Linked DNA regions of Homo sapiens: region 1 is linked to region 2. Evidence: promoter capture Hi-C in human tissues and cell types (Jung and others, 2019). All regions are on one chromosome and are shown on one strand. Each heading gives the region's core, a stretch centred on a gene start or on the middle of the fragment in contact. The rest is flanking DNA. Distances are from core to core; before and after follow the strand shown. Region 1 has its middle 120 kb from the start of LINC00158. Region 2 holds the start of JAM2 (junctional adhesion molecule 2).

Region 1 (5,020 bases), core at 1,652-4,151, 330 kb before region 2:
GGACTAAAGCATCATTCTTGTGAATTAATCTAAAACACCCTTCACTTGTAATCTCCAGGAACATTGCCCAAATACACATGGAGTCTACTCTGATCTGTTTTCACTAGGGATCATGTCATTATCAAATTGTAAAAAAACAATTACCCATATATAAATATATAGACATATTATATATTTATATATAGGTATATATACATACACATATACATACAGATATATCGAGATATAGATATATCTGTGAATAAATAAGCTTTACTTCAAGCAGAAAGGCAGCATGTCCAGCCCCAGGACCTAAGATAGCCCTCATGGACTTAGCCTCTAGGCAAGAGCCCACACATCTAACCTCCTGGCTGGCCCCAGTGGATCCAGGCTTGAGGCTAGTCCCCATGCACTATGGCTGCAGAGGACCCAGGGTCCAGGCTCGTCCCTGTAGACCACAGTGCCAAGTTGGCTCCCATGAAATGAGGCTCCAGAATCACCTCTGCAGACCTAGGCTCCAGAATAGCCCCCATGGATTCAGGACCCAAATCTATCCCCATGGACTCAGGTTCCCGGCCACCTAGCACTGGGACAGTTCCCATGGACTCAGCCTCTAAACCTATTCTAGTGAACCCAGGTGCCATGCTCATCTCAGTGTCTGGCTGGCCCTTGCAGACTCAGGCTCAAGGACTACCCTAGTGCCAGTTCAAGCAATGTGGACCCAGGTTTCAGGCCAGCCCCCATGGATACAGACTCCACCACCAGCCCTGGGAACCCAGTCAACAAGTCCAACCTAGTGAAATCAAACTCCAGATCCACCCCAATGAACACAGGTGGCAGGCCTGTCTATCTGCTAACCCAGGTATCAGTCCAGCCTGCCCAAGGACTAGCAGACTCAAGCCTGCCTACAACATGCCTTGTGAAGGGCTTCCCCTAACAAAGCCAGTCTGCAAAGATTGAAATAAGTCTCTACTTCTTCAAATGTACAGACTTCATAAGACAATAAGAAACATAAAAAACACAACAACAACAACAACAAACACTGCCAAAATAACATCATAATCTTCCAGTAGCTGATCCCCAAAGAAATGGGGATATAAATACTGCCTGACAAAGAACTTAAAATAATGTTTTAAAGAATTTCAGTGACCTTTAAGAAAATACAGAGAAATAATTTAATAAACTTAGCAATAAAATAAATGACCAAAGTGAGGAACTTTCAAAAGAAATTAAAATTATTTTAAAAATCAAACAGAAATTCTGGAGGTGAAAAATACAATGAGTGAAATGAAAATTACAATAGAGATCATCAATAGCAGAACTGGTCAAGCAGGAGAAATAAACTCTAAACTAGAAGACAGTATATTTAAAATATAGTCAAAAAAAGAAAAAAGGAATGAAGAAAACTTCTTGGATTTATGAAACAGCATCAAAAGCGGAAATATTTGAGAGATAGAAGTTTGTGAAGAAGACAAAGCAGAGATAAATAGAAGAAAGCTTATTTAAAGAAATAATAGCATAAACTTTCCAAATATGGGAAGCATATACATATCCAACTATAGAAAATTCAAAAGTCTTCTATCAGATTAATTCCAAACAGGAATACACAAACATATATTATAATCAAACTGTCAAATATCAAAGACAAGGAGAGGAACCTGAATACAGTAAGAGAAAAAAAGCAAATGACATATAAGGAGTTCCAATAAGGCCAGTGATATATATATATGTGTGTATATATATATATATATATAGCTGAAGGAAGAAAAACGCCAACCAACACCAACTGTAAGGCACCTGGCAAAGCTGTTCTTGAGAAATGCAGTGACACACATTTTCCCAAATGAACAAAAACAAAGAGTTCATCACCACCAGACCTGTCTTATAAGAAATACTAAAGAGATTTCTTCAGGCTGAAAGGAAAGGACACTTAGAAACATGAAAATATATTAAAGTATAAAAATCACTACTAAAAATAAGTACATGGTCAAATTAAGAATATTCAAATACTGTGATGGTAGGGTATAAATTACATGTCTTTATTGTGAAGGTCAAAAGACAAAACTATTTAAAATAAAAATAACTACAATAATTTGTTAAGGAATACACAATGCAAAAAGAGGTAAATTTTGAATCAAAACATTTAATGCAGGGAGATTGAGTAAAAATGTAATATTATTTTATACAATCAACATTCAGATGTTAAGATTATCAGCTTAAAATAGCCTGTTATAACTATGTTTTATGTAAGTTTCATGATAACCACAAATGAAATATTAAAGGCCGTATTTGGCAAACTCACAGCTAACATCATACTCAATGGTGAAAAGCTAAACGTTTTTTCTTTAAGATTGGGAACAAGGCAAGAATGCCCACTTATCATTTCTATTCAACATAGTACTGGAAGTCCTAGCCAGAGCAATTAGACAAGTGACAGAAATAAAGGGCATCCAAATTGGAAAGGGAGAAGTTAAATTGTCCCTGTTCGCAAATGACCATAATCTTATATGTGGAAAGCCCTAAAGATTGCACCAAATAACTGTGAGAACTAAAATATGCATTCAATAAAGTTGCAGGATACAAAATCAACTTACAAAAATCAGTAGTGTTTCTATATATTCACAATGAACTATCCAAAAACAAGAAAACAAACTCATTTACAATAGATAGGAAGAAATAAAAAATAAAATACTCAGGAATAAATTTAAAGAGGTGAAAGACCTCTGAAGGAAAACTATGAAACTATTAAATTATAAACTAATAAACTATAAAACTAAAAACTGTTGATGAAAGAAATTGAAGAAGATGCAAATAAATGGAAAAATATTGCATATTTACAGATTGGAATAATTAATATTGTTAAATGTTCATACTACTCAAAACAATCTACAGATTTAACACAATTCCTATCAAAATTCCAATGACATTTTTCACAGAAGTACAAAAAAACTTCTAAAATTCATATGTAACCAGAAATGACCCAGAATACCCAAAGCAATCTTAAGCAAAAAGAACAAAGTTTAATGCATCACACTGCCTGATTTCAAAATATACTACAAAGCCATATTTATCAAAACAACAGGGTACTGGTATAAAAACAGAAACATCTGTTAATAAAACAGAATGGAGAGCCTGGAAATATGTCCTTACATTTATAGTCAACTGATTTTTGACAAAGTTACCAAGAACACACAATAAGTAAAGAATAGCTTCTCTTCAGTAATTGGTGCTGGGAAAACTGGTTATCTATACGTAGAAGGATGAAATTAGATCCTTATGCAAAAATCAACTCAACATATTTTTAAAAATCTACTCAAAATGGATTAAAGACTTAAAACTGGAAACTATAAAACTACTAGAAGAAACCATAGAGGAAAAGCTCCATGACTTTGGTCTGAGTGCTGATATTTTTTTAATACATCCCCTTTTAAAAGCACAGGCAACAAAAGTGAAAATAGACAAATGGGAAAATATCAAACTAAAAACTTATACAGCTAAGGAAATAAACAACAGAGTGAAGAGACAACCTATGGAATGGGAGAAAATAACTGCAAACTGTGTATCTGATAATTACATCCAATGTATATAAGGAACTCAAACAACTCAATAGCGAGAAAACAATCTGATTTTAAAATGGGCAAAGAACCTGAATAGACATTTTTCAAAAGAGAGCATGCAAATGGCCAACAGATAGATGAAAAAGTGTTCAACATCACTATTCATCAGAGAAATGCAAATCAAAATCACAGTGAAATATCGCGTCAACCTACTTAGAATGGCTATTATCAAAAAGATGAAAGACAAGTGTTGACAAAGATGTGGAGAAACAGAAATCACTGCACACTGTTGGTGAGACTGTAAATAAATAGAGCTATTACAGAAAACAATACAAAGCTCCTCAAAAACTTAAAAATAGAACCACCATATGATTCAGCAACCCCGCTACTGAATGTATATCCAAAAGAAGTGAAGTTAGTATGCCAAAGAGATATCTGCACTCCCATGTTTATTTCAGTGCTGTTCACAATAGCCCAAATACAGAATCAACATAAGGGTCCAATAAATAGATAAAGAATATATGGTATATATACATAATGAAATACTCTTTAGTTGTTTTTAAAAAAAGGAAATCCTGTCATTTGCAATAACATGGATAAACCTAAAGGATATTATGTTAAGTGAAATAAGCCAGGCACAGAAAGACAAATACGGCATGATCTCACTTATGTAGAATCTAAAAAAGTTGAACTCATAGAAGCAGAGGTTAGGGGATCATATTGGCCAAAGGATACAAAATGTCAGTTAGGTAAGAAGAATAAGTTCAAGATCTATTGAACAACACGGTGACTATAGTTAATAATGTATTGTATTCTTGAAAAGCACAAAGAGAGTGGATTTTAAGTGTTCTCAACAAAAAACATATGTGAGGTAATACATATGTTATTAGCTCAATTTAGCCATTCCACAGTGTATACATATTTCAAAACATCATTCTGTACAAAAGTATTTTTATTTGTCCATTTTAAAAATAAATAAAATATGTAAGAGGAAAAAAAAGAAAGAAAGCATGGCGAAGACTGGACTACAGTCAGGAAACCTATAATTTTGTTCAGCTACCTGTTGACTAGCTCAGGTTATAAGCTTTCTGAGTGATCTTTCTATACCTACAGTTTTCACTTGTAAGAAGTCACAGGATTGGCTGAGATTACTGACAAAGCCCCTCACAGGTCTAAAGTTTTGTGATCTAAAGTTGTTTACCAGGAATCTACAAATTGCCTAAAGCCATGGTCTGTATAAACTAAAGCAAAGCCTACATTTTTAAGTTATATTTTTATAACAGTAGTTTATAAATATAAATAAGAGTACAGGCAAAAATACATGGCTATATCCAATATTCTATTCAAGATCCCTGCAGCAATTTGTTTTATAAAAAATTACATCTTCACAAAAATATCTTCAAAGATATTCCACTGAGAGTTCATACTTTTTCTCACCCTTTAAATGTACTAGAATCAGCAAAGACATATGAAAATCGATCAGT
Region 2 (5,108 bases), core at 2,080-4,579:
AAAAAAATTTTTAAATATTTTTAATATATCTTATGCATTAGTTGCTTTACTAAGTATAAAACTCAAGTCTGCAAATTTTTTCTACATGTTTTTTGGAGGCTTGCTTTCTCTATTATCCATGTGGGCAATACCCTCATAGACACTAAATACAAGAGACAATTCTCAACCCTCTTTTTAGCCTTGGACTGTACAAACACCTCCACCTTTAGCTCCTGATTCTCTCCCAGTTCCTTTTGTACTTTTTGACTGCTCTTTCTTGTGTTCTTTCTCTGGGTTCTTTCTCTTCCTACCTCTTACTGCAGTTATTTCCTTAGATTTATCCATAAACATTCACTTCTTTGTCTGATTGATCTCATTCACTGCTCCTGCCTTCTAGAAAGTTCCTCAAACAATAATCCATAGATTCGTTGCATCAGAATTAATCAAGGTACTTGTTAATAATACAGCTTCCTGGGGCTGCTGAGATTAAAACTTCTGAAACTCAGAATTTTAACATAATTTTAAGGAAAGAATCATAATGAAGGAGCTCCAAAGGATTCTGGGGAGAAGATAGTCCAGTGATCACTGTTCTAGAAGATGCTGCTAATATTTATATTTATTTCTTTAGTCAATCCTGAGGGTTTCCTGTTCTCTAGAGCACTCATTCTAACAGTCTACTGGTCACCCCAGCTATATTTCTCTCTCTCAACTCATCCCAAACCTGCAGGAATTATGTATGCCCTCTATGTTTCTTATTCCTTTAATGACACTATTTATAACCTCCACATACAGCCACCTATGCTAGAAATCTGATACCTACATGTTCTCTCCTTTCTCACCCCTACATCTAGCTGATAACATAATCCTGTTGACCATGTTTGTGAAATATCATCTGAATCCACCCGGTTTTTCATTTATCACACGGTGACCATTTACTTCACAACTTGGTCTCTTTCTCAGGATATTGTAATAGTTTAGACTTGACTAACACCCTGATTCTCTTTTCTGTAATCCATCCTGCACATTTCAATATGAGTCATCATTCTAGAGCAGCACTCTCTTGTAGAACTTCCTGCAATGATGGAAATACATTTTCCAATATGGTAGCCCCTACCCTCATGTGACTATTGAGAAATTCATATGTGATCAGTGTCAGTGGAGAACTGCATTTTACATATAATTGAATTCAAATTTATATAGCCAGCCAGGCATGGTGGCTCACACCTGTAATTCCAGCACTTTGGGAGGCCAAGGCGTGTGGATCATCTGAGGTCAGAAGTTCGAGACCAGCCTGGCAAACATGGCGAAACCCCATCTCTACAAAAAATACAAAAATTAGCCTGCATGGTGGCACATGCCTGTAGTCCCATCTACTGGACTGAGGAGGCTGAGGCAGGAGAATCACTTGAACCTGGGAGGCGGAGGTTGCAGTGAGCTGAGATTGCACCACTGTACTCCAGCCTGTGTGACAAAGTGAGACTCTGTCTCAAATTAAAAACAAAACAAAAAAAATGTATATAGCCACTTAGATCTATAGGCTACCATATTGGACACCACAGTTCTAAAATATGAGTCTTTTCTTATCTCATTGCTTTCAAAAAGCTCATTAGCTGTAGGATGAGGTCTAGACAGTAGCGTGAATGCTCTTCGTACTCTAACCTCCCCTTCAGTTTCTACCACCACCACCACCTACCTCACTATCCCGATCCCACATACACTTTAGTACTGTAGAACCTTGCTTTTTCTAAATAAACCATAATTTTTCAATCTCCTAGCTCTGGATCCTGCTGTTTCCTCTATGTAGAATGCCTCTCCTTTATGTCCTTCCCTTCAGAATTTGACCCATTTTTCAAGGTTTAATAAAGAAAGCCCTGGCCCCACTCCCAACAAAAGGAACAGCCCCTTATCATGGACCTTGGACAAGCCATTTAGTGTCTCTCCGCCCAGTTTTCTCATCTGCAAAGTGGGAATGATAACATTTCCTCTTTTATGGAGTTGTTGGGGGATTAGATATTGCGTTATTCAGACTCCATCACTGAGAAAGCATGCAATAAAAATAGCTGTTATTATTTTCTGTCCTCCTGTAACATTTACCATGTGGTATCAGGCATCTTTCCTGATAAGACTCTGTCTCCCCTCAAGACTGTGAGCTTGTTAGCAAGAAAGCCTCTATCTTGTTCATGGTTGTCCTTCAGCATCCAGCACATTGTTGCCATTTGTCAAATGCCTTGGCTGGGTGGCAAATAAATAACTTAGTCAGTTACTCACATAGGATTGCATAGAATTTTTTTAAGTATGACATTTTTGTGTATATTTTTAGGGAGGAGTAAAAGACATATAGCTGTAGCAAGAATTAGAAAAAAGAAGATGCCAACAACTTTTCTTTTTAAGCATCAAATCCTTCTCATTACTGCCCAGAAAAACTGGCATAAGCTGTTGTTAAATCTGTGCCCCTTCTCCTCGGTTGACTGGAGTACGAGTTTTAACATTTTGCCATTTTGACTTTCCTTTCTGGGTCCCCTGGGTCCTCTCCTCCCACCCCCTCCCTGGGTACTAAGTTTTCATCACTGTCACCACGGCAACAGCAAGGATGCCTCATTCCTCACAGTTCTGCACAGCTAAACTCTGGTCGCCTTTGTCCACTGAGCTAGCTGAATTCTTTTTAAATACACCACTAAATCAACTATCTGCTGTACAGAACTTCATCCATTATTCAACCTTTAAAAAAAAACAAAAACAAAAACAAACAAAAAAACAAAAGAAAAAAACTGATGTATACTAATTTCTTCTCCTGGGAATGGCCTTTTTCCAGACCTGCCAATACTCTTGAATACACCATACATTTTTGGTCCCTAGGAACAAATATAAAAATTGCCAGTGTACGTGCGTCCAATGTAAGTGTGGTGCAATTTTAAAGCACGCAACAGAGCATTCATAATGGGTTTCCCTTTTAAAAGCACAGTAGACCAAAAATAAACCTGACAAAGGGCAGCTGTAGAGTTTTAACACGTGGAAAACTCCACAAGCAGCAGTTATGTAACTTGAAAGAAACATGATAAATATTTCACACCATTAGATGAACTTCCAACTCTGACACTGAAAAAAAAGCAAAGAACAAGAACGCGAGACAAATGCACCTCAAATCTCCAAGGAGCAAAAAGCTTAAACTGAGAAGGGACCAAGGCTGTACTAAAATCTGAGACCTGACTTCCAGCACGAGTCTTGATTGCTTTTTTTTTTCTCGAGTTCGAGGCGGAGCCCGCGAACCCCATCTCCTCAGAGCGCCACCCCCTCAGCTTCGCCCGTTGGGCAGAATTTTCCAAATATCTCCACCCCTAGGCTGAAAAGCCAGAAAGAAGTTTTGAGCCAACGAGGGGAAGAAAGGAGTTGGGGCAAAACAGGAGGCGTTTCCCTACCCGCATACATCCCCGTCCCCGAGACACCCAATCCCCCCACCCCCAGCCTGCCCGCGCCTCCCGCCCCCAGCTCCTCGCCCTGGGGACAGCTGGCAGCCCCGCGCGGACCAGACACAAAGCCGATCAATCCCGGAGGCGTGGGGGCGGAGGGACGACCCGCCGGGGCTTTCCCGGGCGCTGCTCTCCTCCTGCTGCCCCCTCGCTAGGACCCGGCGGACGCCTCGTCTGGTTTTCACGCCCTCTAGCCCCTACCCCCACACCCCCAAAACAGAACAGACCCCCATCCCTGGGCTGGAGGACCCGCCTCTTGGCAGCCAGCTGAGAAGGCGCCCCGGGGAGGGGGAAACTGACATCCCATCTAGAGCCGTCCCTCCTCTTCCTCCCCTCCCGACTCTCTGCTCCTTTCCCGCCCCAGAAGTTCAAGGGCCCCCGGCCTCCTGCGCTCCTGCCGCCGGGACCCTCGACCTCCTCAGAGCAGCCGGCTGCCGCCCCGGGAAGATGGCGAGGAGGAGCCGCCACCGCCTCCTCCTGCTGCTGCTGCGCTACCTGGTGGTCGCCCTGGGCTGTAAGTTGCTCGGGTTCCTCTACCCTTCCTGCCTGGACCAGCCTGCCCCCACCCTCCAGCCCCCCACGGGGCGCTGGCTGACAGTGTCTGGGCGGCTCTGGGCCGAGGTCGCCGCGGGGCGTCTGACCTTGCGCCCAGGCGAGCGGGAAACCCAGGGTGCCCGCGAGCGGACGCTGGGAGCAAGGGAGCGCGAGGTCGTGGGTTTCTTGTGAATTGCGTCTGATTTTGTCAGTTCTAGATACAGAAAATTAAGGGTTCCCACTAGCAGGTTCTCATCTGTTTGCAAAGTTGGGGTAAGTTTTCAGACAGAGGGACGTGATTCGAATGCAAAACTCACTACCCACTGGTAAGATGCTAAGACCCCAAGAAAGATGGCATCACTGGGAGGCGGGCGCCGGCCACACTTTGAGTCCCCGGGGAGGGGGCAGCGTCCGCGTGGTCTGGGCTCTGTAGCGTCCCAGCTGAGCCGGCGATATGCAGCGCACTTGTGGGGCGGAGGTGGAGGGAATTCGTGGCTGCTGAGCCAGAATTACTTTTATCCTCTCCACCTGCACATCTACATTCACTTAGAGAAGTCTGGTCTGGGGACTCTAGCCAGCTGCTCTGTCCTCAGGGGACATCCAACGGGACGATTGTTAGAAAGATTCAGAAGCCACATGATCCAGTAGCTGGGGAGACGTCCCAAAGCCAATTTCACCGGATGATTTTAAACAGGATTTTCACGGATTCTGGACTCATGAGATTTGAAATCCTGGGAACGTTGCCGTTATTTTGTTTTCTTCGCGTTAACTTTTTAGGAAAATGGAGGAAATTACAATAGACTAAGCAATGCAGTTCTACTTTTGCTTTTTCTTTTTTCTCTCACCTTTTTTGTTTTGCTTTTTTCCCTTCCTTCCTTCCTCCCTTCCTTTCTCTTTCTTCTTTCTTTCTCTCTCTCTTTCTTTCTGTCTCTCTTTCTTTCTTTTGTAAAATGAGTTATTGTTGCTATTCACGTTCTGGTAAAGTAACACTTATAATACTTAACCTGCGGGACGAGTGTCTAATACCACAATACAATGATATTTTCTCACGCCCTCGCTGCCCAAGTGATCATCGCACAGCTCAAGTGATGTGAGCCACGTCCCTTTGTGGAGGAGGAAGGTGCACAT

The links. The method cuts DNA at HindIII sites, captures the fragments that hold promoters and counts their contacts. A contact is called where the count stands out against the background at its distance.
Region 1: a fragment that was not itself captured here is called in contact with the fragment with the promoter of JAM2 in region 2 in 2 of the 25 tissues and cell types used here (dorsolateral prefrontal cortex and lymphoblastoid cells).

What each region holds. Positions count from the first base shown.
Region 1 is chr21:25,308,387-25,313,406 of GRCh38, forward strand. No RefSeq gene overlaps it. Among named protein-coding and RNA genes, the nearest start is that of LINC00158, 120 kb to the right of the region's middle. The HindIII fragment of the contact is 4,077 bases long and covers 864-4,940 here.
Region 2 is chr21:25,635,929-25,641,036 of GRCh38, forward strand. It overlaps JAM2 (junctional adhesion molecule 2), which reads left to right and starts at 3,330. Exons shown (of 10, transcript NM_021219.4): 1 at 3,330-3,960. The coding sequence starts at 3,894. RefSeq lists enhancers at 2,963-3,102, 3,840-4,340, 4,243-4,312 and a silencer at 3,323-3,512. The HindIII fragment of the contact is 5,846 bases long and covers 1-4,331 here.